Linked DNA regions of Homo sapiens: region 1 is linked to region 2. The links are contacts of gene promoters, found by promoter capture Hi-C in human tissues and cell types (Jung and others, 2019). All regions are on one chromosome and are shown on one strand. The core of a region is centred on a gene start or on the middle of the fragment in contact, and the rest is flanking DNA. Distances in the headings are between cores, read along the strand shown. Region 1 has its middle 11 kb from the start of MLLT1. Region 2 holds the start of LONP1 (lon peptidase 1, mitochondrial).

The links. Contacts are between HindIII fragments. The study calls those that stand out against the background at their distance.
Region 1: a fragment that was not itself captured here is called in contact with the fragment with the promoter of LONP1 in region 2 in 1 of the 25 tissues and cell types used here (dorsolateral prefrontal cortex).

What each region holds. Positions count from the first base shown.
Region 1 is chr19:6,288,407-6,293,645 of GRCh38, reverse strand. No RefSeq gene overlaps it. Among named protein-coding and RNA genes, the nearest start is that of MLLT1, 11 kb to the right of the region's middle. The HindIII fragment of the contact is 5,354 bases long and covers 1-4,640 here.
Region 2 is chr19:5,717,108-5,722,627 of GRCh38, reverse strand. LONP1 (lon peptidase 1, mitochondrial) reads left to right here and starts at 2,482. Exons shown (of 18, transcript NM_004793.4): 1 at 2,482-2,924. The coding sequence starts at 2,496. CATSPERD (catsper channel auxiliary subunit delta) reads right to left here and starts at 1,991. Exons shown (of 22, transcript NM_152784.4): 1 at 1,820-1,991. The coding sequence starts at 1,890. RefSeq lists enhancers at 2,233-2,332, 2,285-2,801, 3,835-4,350, 4,351-4,867 and silencers at 2,613-2,662, 2,793-2,872. The HindIII fragment of the contact is 49,943 bases long and covers 1-5,520 here.

The DNA.
Region 1 (5,239 bases), core at 714-3,213, 570 kb before region 2:
TTACCTTGTGATCTGCCCGCCTCGGCCTCCCAAAGTGCTGGGATTACAGGTGCAAGCCATCACACCTGGCCAACCATAGCACTTCCTTTTTAAGAAGTCCTGGCCAGGCGCAGTGGCTCATGCCTATAATCCCAGCATTTTGGGAGACTGAGGCAGGTGGATCACCTGCAGTTAGGAATTCGAGACCAGTCTGGCCAAATGGTGAAACCCTGTCTCCACTAAAAATTACAAAAATTAGCCGGGCATGGTGGCACATGCCTGTAATCCCAGCTACTTGGAAGGCTGAGGCAGGAGAATTGCTGGAGCCTGGGAGACGGAGGTTGCAGTGAGCTGAGATTGCACCACTGTACTCCAGCCTGGCCAATAGAACAAGACTCTGTCTCAAAAAAAAAAAGGAAATCTTTTAAAATATGTTACTACCTGACCTTAGCCATGCCAAATGGCCAATACTTCTGACTTTTGAACTCATGGAGGGGCAGAGAATACAGTTTTTGTCATTCCTACAACCAGCTTGCACAGAGAGAGAGAAGCCAGAAGTCCAACTGCTAAAAACTCTTACCCTTTTGTCAGCATGTCAGGCTTCTGGGTTCCATTCCCCTGAGCCATGGAGCCCTATTGACCCTGGAGTCCTGTGAAGGGGAACAGCCAAAGAGAAGTTGTCCCTCCTCAAGAAATTGCCAAGCAGTTTAACGCTTGGGGAAATTAAACTCTTCCTAGTTTGCGGGATGGATCCCAGGGGAGTATCCTGTGGTACAGAGGTGTGATTACCCATCTGTGAAGAGAGAACAGAGGAGGAATAAAGGAAAAATGTTTTTTTCTCCAGAGTCTGAGGGTCAAAGGAGTTCCAGTGTCTTTTTTCTTTTCTTCTTCTTTTTTTTTTTTTTTTTGGCAGAGTCATGCTCTGTCACCCAGGCTGGAGTACTGTGGCACAATCTCAGATCACTGCAACCTCTGCCTCCTGGGTTCAGGTGATTCTCCTGCCTCAGCCTCCCAAGTAGCTGGGATTACAGGCACATGTGCCACCATGCCCAGCTAATTTTTTGTATTTTCGGTAGAGATGGGGTTTTGCCATGTTGGTCAGGCTGGTCTCAAAGTCTTGGCCTCAAGTCATCCACCCACCTTGGCCTCCCAAAGTGCTGGGATTACATGCATGAGCCACCACACCCGGCTGCGTTCCAGTAATTTAGAATGCACTTGAGAGGAGTGCAGGCTGAAAATGATTGGTTGCTTACCCATCTGGAAAGAGGGGAAAGACATCCCTTTGTTCCTCTCTTTCCAGTGAATACCTGGGGTACGTGATGGAGATTTTTTTAAAAAGGCATCTCTTTTTCCTCTTCCAACCTTATATCCTTGAGTCCCAGTGACCTTTGCAGGTGCCACTCATAGCTGCGAGTGCAACCTTCACCCATGCAGCGGGAAGGCCTAGTGGGTAGGAATATTCGCACTTACCTACATACCACCCTATCCTTCTGCTGTTGGTAACCTTTGGGTTCCCTAGACCTTATCTATGCTTCCATCCATGAAGCAGGAGGGCTAACTGGCAGGAATTAGTCATGCTCACCTGGGCTGTGCCTCTCAACTCCTGCTGTCATCTGCCTCAGGTCTAATGTCCCATTTCAGGACTTTAAAGTGAAGCTTGGGACAAAAAAGGTGACTCAGATGGGTCTATGGACCCATTAAATTAGTCCCATGTGGCCCTCGCCAAATTGCAGATAGCAACTGGAGGGGGCTGCTCCTCTACTGCCTCTCTATCATAAGCAGGTGAAGCCGTGAGGCCAGGTCCTCCTCAAACAAGGGAGAGAAAGGGAGTCCCAGAAATTGGGGACCTGACCTAATAAGGTGCCTCCCTGATACAGTTTGGCTCTGTGTCTCCACCCAAATCTCATCTTAAATTATACTCTCATAATTCCCACATGTTGTGGGAGAGACTCAGTGGGAGGTCATTGAATCATGGGGATGGTTTCCCCCATACTGTTCTCATGGTAGTGAATAAGTCTCATGAGATCTGATGGTTTCATAAAGGGTTTCTGCTTTCACTTCTTCCTCATTCTCTCTTGCTTCTGCCATGTAAGAAGTGCCTTTCTCCTTCTGCCATGATTGTGAGGTTGCAGTGAGTTGAGATTGTGCCACAGTACTCCAGCCTGGGTGACAGAGCGTGTCTCTGTCTTAAAAAATAAATAAATAAATAAATCACTGGAACGCCTTTGACCCTCAGACTCTGGAGAATCTCCTCATGATGTGGAACTGTGAGTCCGTTAAACCTATTTTCCTTCCCAGGCTTGGGTATGTCTTTATCAGCAACATGAAAACGAACTAATACACTCCCTAACGGAAACAAAAGTAACCCCACAGAGAAAAGCTCCCTGTAGTCACAAGACTATGTTGACTCCTGGCGTGGTGGGGAAGAAGACCTGAGATGCTGCTTACAGTCGTGCTAAGAGAGGAAGGGGGCCTGGGTTGGGGAGGAGAACTGAAAGGCCTGCTCCAGAGTCCAGGAGGTGGCTACCTTCCTCCCTTCAACCCAGGGCTCCTGGATGGTAATAGTGGTCTGAACCATCAGAGCTTGGGAAAGGAGCCCTAGAATCCATCTGTCCTTCTGGACCATCTGGAAGTCTGGTCCTGGACCCGGCAACCTGTGTCTCCAGGGACAGGCTGCCCCTACAATGGTTCCCACTGCAAACCAGACAGGGTTGAGGTGGCCTCCCCGCACTGCCCAGACAGTCTCTCCTGAAGTGGCCTGGCCTGCCACATTTGCAGCAGACAACGGGTGCATCTCAGGGACTATGGAGTCCGTGAAGCTTCAGGGCAGGTATTAGAGCTTTTGCCTTTTTTTCCGTATCTCCTCTCTCTTTTCTGGACTTCCTCCAAGTTCCCACAGCAAAGTCTAAGGTGACCACTCCCAGGAGGCCCTCCAAAGTACCATCTGGCCCTGCAGCCTGTTTCTGAAGCTCCCTCCTGACATCAGGGCCTGACTGTGTCATAAACTCATCCTCTAGGATCAGATGTCCCTCTCCTCAATCAGGACTTAGGTGTGTTTTACCAAGGCCTCTCTTAGCCTTTCCAGGAAGGCAGTGGGACTCACGCTTAATCCCTGTCTACCATGGATAGCTTAGTGTAATTGAGAGGCTTTGTCCTAGTCCTTCGTATGCCCTCTGGTATGCACACCTGAAAGTGTTTCCTCTTCCATTCTTTTTTTTTTTTTTGAGATGGTGTCTTGCTCTGTCGCCGAGGCTGGAGTGCAGTGGCATGATCTCGGCTCACTGCAACCTCCACCTCCCAAGTTCAAGTTATTCTCCTGCCTCAGCCTCCTGAGTAGCTGGGATTACAGGCATGTGCCACCACATCTGGCTAATTCATTTTTGTATTTTTAGTAGAGATGGGGTTTCACCATGTTGGTCAGGCTGGTCTAGAACTCCCGACCTCGTGATCTGCCCACCTCGGCCTTCCAAAGTGCTGGGATTACAGGTGTGAGCCACCGTGCCTGGCCTCCTTTTCCATTTTCTTTTTTTTTTTTTTTTTTGAGACAGAGTCTTGCTCTGTCATCAGGCTGGAGTGCAGTGGCATGATCTCAGCTCACTGCAATCTCTGCCTCCCAGGCTCAAGTGATTCCCTGCCTCAGCCTCCCAAGTAGCTGGGACTACAGGTGTGCACCACCATGCCTGGCTATTTTTTTTGTATTTTAGTAGAGATGGGGTTTCACCATGTTGGGCAAGATGGTCTTGATCTCCTGACTTCATGATCCGCCCATCTCAGCCTCCCAAAGTTCTGGGATTACAGGTGTGAGCCACCACGCCTGGCCCCATTCTTTTGTCTCATCATTGAGGTCCCATTTAGGGTTCTTCAGTGGTACTGCTATTCTTCCAATCAGATAAGTCTCATCCCCTTCCCTGGCCCTATATAAGATATAAAGCTCATCCCCAAAATTCTGTGCCACTTTCAGGGTGGCCTGCTTTTCAGTGGTGGTCAGGGTTTGATTCAAAAGTAACATGAAGCCGGGTGCAGCTCATGGCTGTAATTCCAGCACTTTGGGATACCAAGGTGGGCAGATCACTTGAGGTCAAGAGTTTGAGACCAGCCTGGCCAATATGGTAAAACCCCATGTCTACTAAAAATATAAAAATTAGCCAGTGTGGTGGTGCATGCCTGTAGTCCCAGCTACTTGGGAGGCTGCGGCAGGAGAATCACTTGAACCTGGGAGGTGGAGGTTGCAGTGAGCCAAGAGAGTGCCACTGCACTCCAGCCTGGATGACAGAGTGAGACCCCATCTCAAACAAAAACAAAAACAAGAGTAACATGACATCTTTCCAGGAGAGCTCAAATACTTGGGTTAAGTTCTGGAAACTCTCTATATACCTGTGAGGGCCATCTGAAAACTTGCCAAGATCTCCCCTTAAATTTGCCTTAAGTTCTATAGAGAAAAGGAAAACTGAACTTCAATGGGACCATATTCACCAGGCATCTGTTTTTGGGCAGTTGAGACTGGGACCTGCCTTAAACAAGGATTACTATGCCGGGGCAAGCTTGAGAGAGAACCTGGATAGGGAGGAGTTGAGGGGATTGATTCCCCTGCTGGAGGTACCTCTGGGGTATGCTTCCCTATTTCTCTGGGATTACCCCTTGCAGCTTCTCCTGAGAAGGCCATTAGGACAGCTGAATCAATCCTACAATGTTGGCAAAGGTCCAGATTACCCTGCAAGGCAAAGAAGGCCTGCATGTATGGGACCTTGGACCATTTATTTGCCCTTGTGTTTACAGAAAAGCTTCCTTCCTGAGGCCATGCTTCTGTTCTGTGCCTCAAGGTGCCTTGCACCAAGATGGCAACCAAGGAAATGACAATAACATTTTTCCCACAAAATTATGTACAGATACCAAGGCACACTTTGCTCATCTGTGCTACTCTTAACCTTCCATTTTATACTTTTGATGACTAAGCCAAATGCTCATTCTATCCAGTAATTTCTCTGTTTTGCAGCAACATTCTTAACATTTAACATTGTAGGCTGGATGCGGTGGCTCATACCTGTAATCCCAGCCCTTTGGGAGGGCGAGGCAGGTGGATGACCTGAGGTCAGGTGTTCAAGACAAGCCTGCCCAACATGGTGAAACCCCATCTCTATTAAAATACAAAAATTAGCCAGGCATGGTGGTGCATGCCTGAAATCCCAACTACTTTGGAGGCAGATGTTGCAGTGAGATAAGATCACACCACTGCACTCCAGCCTGGGCGACAGAGCAAGGC
Region 2 (5,520 bases), core at 1,233-3,732:
GATGCTGCTGGTCCAGGGACCATTCTTTGAGAGCCTGTGTGGGGAAATGAGAGAACTGGATATAACCCACATTTTCAGAACTCGAGACAAATCCTATTAGTAAATTTCACTGGAAAATGTTTCTCCCACTTACTAGGTATGTGTTGTTAGGCAAGTGTGTCTTTAACTTTCCTAAGTATGCTTTCGTATCTATAAAATAAGGGTGTTGGCCGGGCGCGGTGGCACACGCCTGTAAGCCCAGCACGTTGGGAGGCCGAGGCAAGTGAATCACGAGGTCAGGAGTTCGAGACCAACCTGGGCAACATGGTGGAACCCTGTCTCTACTAAAAACACAAAAAATTAGCTGCACGTGGTGGCAGGCGCCCATAATCCCAACTACTCTGGAGGCTGAGGCAGGAGAATTGCTTGAACTTGGGAGGCGGAGGTTGCAGTGAGCCGAGACCGTGACATTGTACTCCAGCCTGGGCGACGAGAACAAGACTCCATCTCAAAAAAATAAAATAAGGGTATGGCTGGGCATGGGTGGCTCATGCCTGTAATCCCAACACTTTGGGAGGCTGAGGCAGGAGGATCACTGGAGCCTAGGAGTTCAAGACCAGCCTGGGCAAAACAGTGAGACCCCATCTCTTTTTTTTTTTTTTTCCTTTGAGACAGAGTCTCCCTTTGTCACCCAGGCTGGAGTGCGATCTCAGCTCACTGCAACCTCCACCTCCTGAATTCAAGCGATTTTTCTGCCTCAGCCTCCCAAGTAGCTGGGATTACAGGCACCTGCCACCAAGCCTGGCTAATTTTTGTATTTTTAGTAGAGACGAGGTTTCATCATGTTGGCCAGGCTGGTCTGGAACTCTTGACCTCAAGTGAGTGATCTGCCCACCTCTACCTCTCAAAGTGTTGGGATTACAGGCGTGAGCCACTGCACCCAGCCAGTGAGACCCCATCTGTACAAAAAATAATAATAAATAAAATAAAATAAGGTTAAGGAATCATTATGAATCTTCCTGTAAACATCAAATGAGGCCATACACCCTAAGAATACAGCTCACAGGTCCCTACTGAATGTGACAGTTTAGTCCAGATGGGAGTTCCCTGAGGGCAGGAACGGAGTTTCAGCAACTGGTCCCCATGGCAGGTTGGAGTATGCACTAACCTAACATTTACTGAAATTTCAAAATGTGCTGGGTAAGGCTGGGCGCGGTGGCTCACGCCTGCAATCCCAGCACTTTGGGAGGCGGGGGTTGCAGTGAGCAGAGATCGCGCCACTGCACTCCACCCTGGGAAACAGAGCAAAAACTCCGGCTCCAAAAAGAAAAAGAAGTGGGAGGGCTAGGCCCGGCGTGGTGGCTCACGCCTGTAATCCCAGCACTTTGGGAGGCCGAGGCAGGCGGGTCACGAGGTCAGGAGATCGGGACCATCCTGGCTAATACGGTGAAACCCCCGTCTTTACTAAAAATACAAAAAAAAATTAGCCGGGCGTGGTGGCAGGCGCCTGTAGTCCCAGCTACTCAGGAGGCTGAGGCAGGAGAATGGCGTGAATCCGGGAGGCGGAGCTTGCAGTGAGCCGAGATCGCGCCACTGCACTGCAGCCTGGGCGACAGAGCGAGACTCCGTCTCAAAAAAAAAAAAAAAAAGAGGTAGGAGAGCTTAATATCGGGCTGGGAGGATGGGGTGGAGTAGGGTGAGCGAGGCGTCAAGTTCGATTCCTAAAAAGAGTAAAAGGGGAGCCTCAGTGAGGTTGGGGAGCAGGCCTCGGCTCCAAGATGAACCAGCACCCTCCCGACCCCCGGCAGCACCCCAGCCCCAGGAGTCCTGGCAGCCCCACCGACAGAGCTGAGCTGTGACCAGCGGTCGGAGCCACATGGTCACAGCCGCCACCAGCATCAACATCAGCATCGACTTGGGCTTCCGCCGCCACCACTGCCCCTCAACCGCCACGGGGAGTCGCTGCACAATCCGAGTACGTGCAGGCTGAAGCCCTGCGCATGCGCATCAATGAGTCCCGGGAGCGGGCCTCCGCGCACTGCAGCCCGGCGCTCCGCCTGAATCTTGAGCATGCGCAGACGAATCCCGGGAAGCCCGAATCCGCGCACCCCAAAGTGCGCTCAGAGCCTGAGTATGCGCACCCGGCCACCCGTGGCCAGTCTAGAGTCTGAGCATGCGCATGTTGTCCGCGCGCCTAAGCATGTGCACAGGCTGCTCATGAGTTCCTAAACGTTGCGTTTGCAACACTACCAGTGTTTTGTACGGGCGCTGGCGCCTGCTCACAGCCTTCCACGTGACCGGAAAAGGCCTTCAGCGCATAAAGTGGGAGACCGGAAGAGGCGGAGACGATCCGATGCTCGAACTCCGCCCCCTCTTCTCCGCGTAGGCCCAGCTCCCTGAAGCGGCTGTTTCGAGCCACGCGCCCATCGGGTACCGAGGCACGCGCCGGGCGTCACGTGCGTTTCGCGGCGAGCGGAAATGACGCGAGTTGTGTGAGCCGCCAGTATGGCCGGGCTATGGCGGCGAGCACTGGCTACGTGCGACTGTGGGGAGCGGCGCGGTGCTGGGTGCTGCGGCGGCCGATGCTGGCCGCCGCCGGGGGGCGGGTTCCCACTGCAGCAGGAGCGTGGTTGCTCCGAGGCCAGCGGACCTGCGACGCCTCTCCTCCTTGGGCACTGTGGGGCCGAGGCCCGGCAATTGGGGGCCAATGGCGGGGGTTTTGGGAAGCGAGCAGCCGCGGCGGAGGCGCATTCTCGGGGGGCGAGGACGCCTCCGAGGGCGGCGCGGAGGAAGGAGCCGGCGGCGCGGGGGGCAGCGCGGGCGCCGGGGAAGGCCCGGTCATAACGGCGCTCACGCCCATGACGATCCCCGATGTGTTTCCGCACCTGCCGCTCATCGCCATCACCCGCAACCCGGTGTTCCCGCGCTTTATCAAGATTATCGAGGTAATGGGAGTCCCCGCCTCGGCCTCAGGTTTCCCACCTGTGCAAGCAGCGGGCTGAACCGTGGGATCACTTGAGCGCCCTTGTGTTTCGCAACTTTTTCAGACATGAAGTTTCTCGAAGGGTGCAGTTCGAATCCTTGTCTGCTCACCACTAGCTTGGGAACCTTGAGCCAAAGTCCTCTCCCTTTCGGATTTCTTAGGATCCGTTAGATGAGAGGAGTTGAACCCGATGAGCCTAGGATTATCCACTTTAGAACGCCGGTCATAGAAATCCGGGGCCGGGAGGGACCTGAGTAGTGTTACGGCGCTGTTAGTTTTCTCCTTACTTGGCACGAGTTTTGTAATACCTCCTCGCCCCAGGCGCTCTGCCGTCTGGTTACGAGCCTCACTGGGATCAGAATTCATTCCTTTCTTAGACAAATACTTCTTGATTGCTTATTATTTGCCAGAGAGTGTTCTAGGTTCTGGGGATATGGCAGTGAACAAAACAGACAAAAATTTCTGCCTTTGAAGCTGGGCATGGTGGCGCGCGCTGTACTCCCAGCTACTCTGGCGGCTGAGGTGGAAGGATTGTTGGAAACCTGGAGTCCAGCCTGGTCAACATGGCGAGACCCTGTCTCTTAAAAAATAAATCTGCCTTGGAGCTTACATTTTGGCAGGATGAGACAGGCAATAAAGATGTTTAGTAACGATATTGTATTAGAAGGCAATAATTACGAGAAATAGTAGAGCATGGATGGGACAGGAGGCTTAGGAGGGTGGGAAGAGGTGGGTTATTCAGTGTGTTCTTGACCTCCTACCACGTAGCAAGTTCTGAGAATACTGTAGAGAACAAGTCATTCCGGTGGTAGAAATTAGATCATTTCAGACTAAGAGCCTTGGGGGTGGGGAGGGAGCAGGATGATGTAATAGAGAGAAAGCAGTGAGTGTAAGGAACTTGAGCTTTTACAGTAGGAAGGCCCCAAAAGCCTTCTCCCCCAGCTCCCCTTCCCTTAAAAAAAAAAACTACTGATGTGGAAAGTGGCATCTATGGGAAGGTTATCTCCTAACTGGCAGAGCAAGGTCACGCAGTGAGTCAGCCTCTGCGCTCACTCTCCAGACTCTTCTAAACAAATCTCAAGGATCTGTTGGGAAGGGAAAGGCCATTTCAGAGGGGCAGCAGCCAGTAGAGAGGGGACAGAGGGAGCTTCTCCAACGCTGCTCCAAGATTTTTTTTTTTTTTTTTTTGAGACCAAGTTGCACTCTGTCATCTAGGCTAAAGTGCAGTGGCGCGATTTCAGCTCACTGCAACCTCTGCCTCCCGGGTTCAAGTGATTCTCCTGCCTCAGCCCCCTGAGTAGCTGGGATTACAGGCGCCCGCCACCGTGGCTGGCTAATTTTTCTATTTTTAGAAGAGACAGGGTTTCACCATGTTGCCCACGCTCGTCTCGAACTCCTGACCTCAAGTGATTCACCCGCCTCAGCCTCCCAAAGTGCTGGGATTGCAGGTGCGAGTCACTGCGCCCGGCCCCAAGGCCTTTCCTTGATGTTGAGTACTGGTTACTGATGCAGGCCCCCAGAGCAAGACCTTGTGGGGTCCTATCCTAGCTCCATAACCTTCAGCAAGTTATTCCTTTGGCTTCCCTCTTCTCATCTGTGACCTGGACATATTAGTGTCTTATTAGAGTTGTTGTGGGATTTAAATGAGGCCATGTGGGCTGGGCACGGTGTCTCACATGTTTAATCCCAGCACTTTGGGAGGCTGAGGCAGGAGCATAATTTGAAACCAGTATGGTCAACATAGACCCTGTCTCTACAAAAAAAAAAAAAAAAAGAAAGAAAGAAAAGCCGGGCACAGTGGCATGCACCTGTCTTCCCAGCTACTTGGAAGGCTGAGGCAGGAGGATCACTTGAAACTGGGAGATCAAGGCTGCAGTGAGCCATGGTGTCACCACTGCACTGCAGCCTGGGCAACAGAATGAGGCCCTGCCTCAGCAATAACGTGATGCTGTTTCCTCTTTGGTGTACTTCTGACATTTCAGGACTCTGCCCCGGAGGCCTTTTTCCCATCCTTGACTTCACCCCTGGCAGTTCTCTTTACCCTCCCAGGTTTCTGGGCCCAGGATGGTGTTCATCAGGCCTGGTCCCCTCCGTTCTGCAGAGCGACAGATGCCCCTTGCTCCCGGTGCCTGAGCAGAGAGATGATTCTTCTAAGAGAGTTCAGACGGCCCACGTGGAGCTAGCCAGGAGAGTTAAATGAGTGGCTGCAGATAGTATTTGGGAGACTGGCAGGTGGTTCTCATTGTATTTCTGGTTGATGATGCATTGTAAATCATAAAAATGGATCCTGCCAAGGCCAGGAGGCAGATGCCAAGGATGCAGCTATCAGCTGTTGGCAGAGGGGAAATTGGGAGGCAACTTCTTTGGGACCCAATAAATGTTTCTGAAATTGTTAGCAAAGCTTGATTTACTCTTCAGTTTGTACTTGACTTGTCTGGCCAACTTGCTCTAGAAGCTTCTCTCCTATTAGCAACTTTTGAGTAAGGAACAATGGCTCTTAATTTTTGGTGGGTATTAAAGAATAAATCATAAGTGTTAGAAGTATTAGTTTCTTTTAA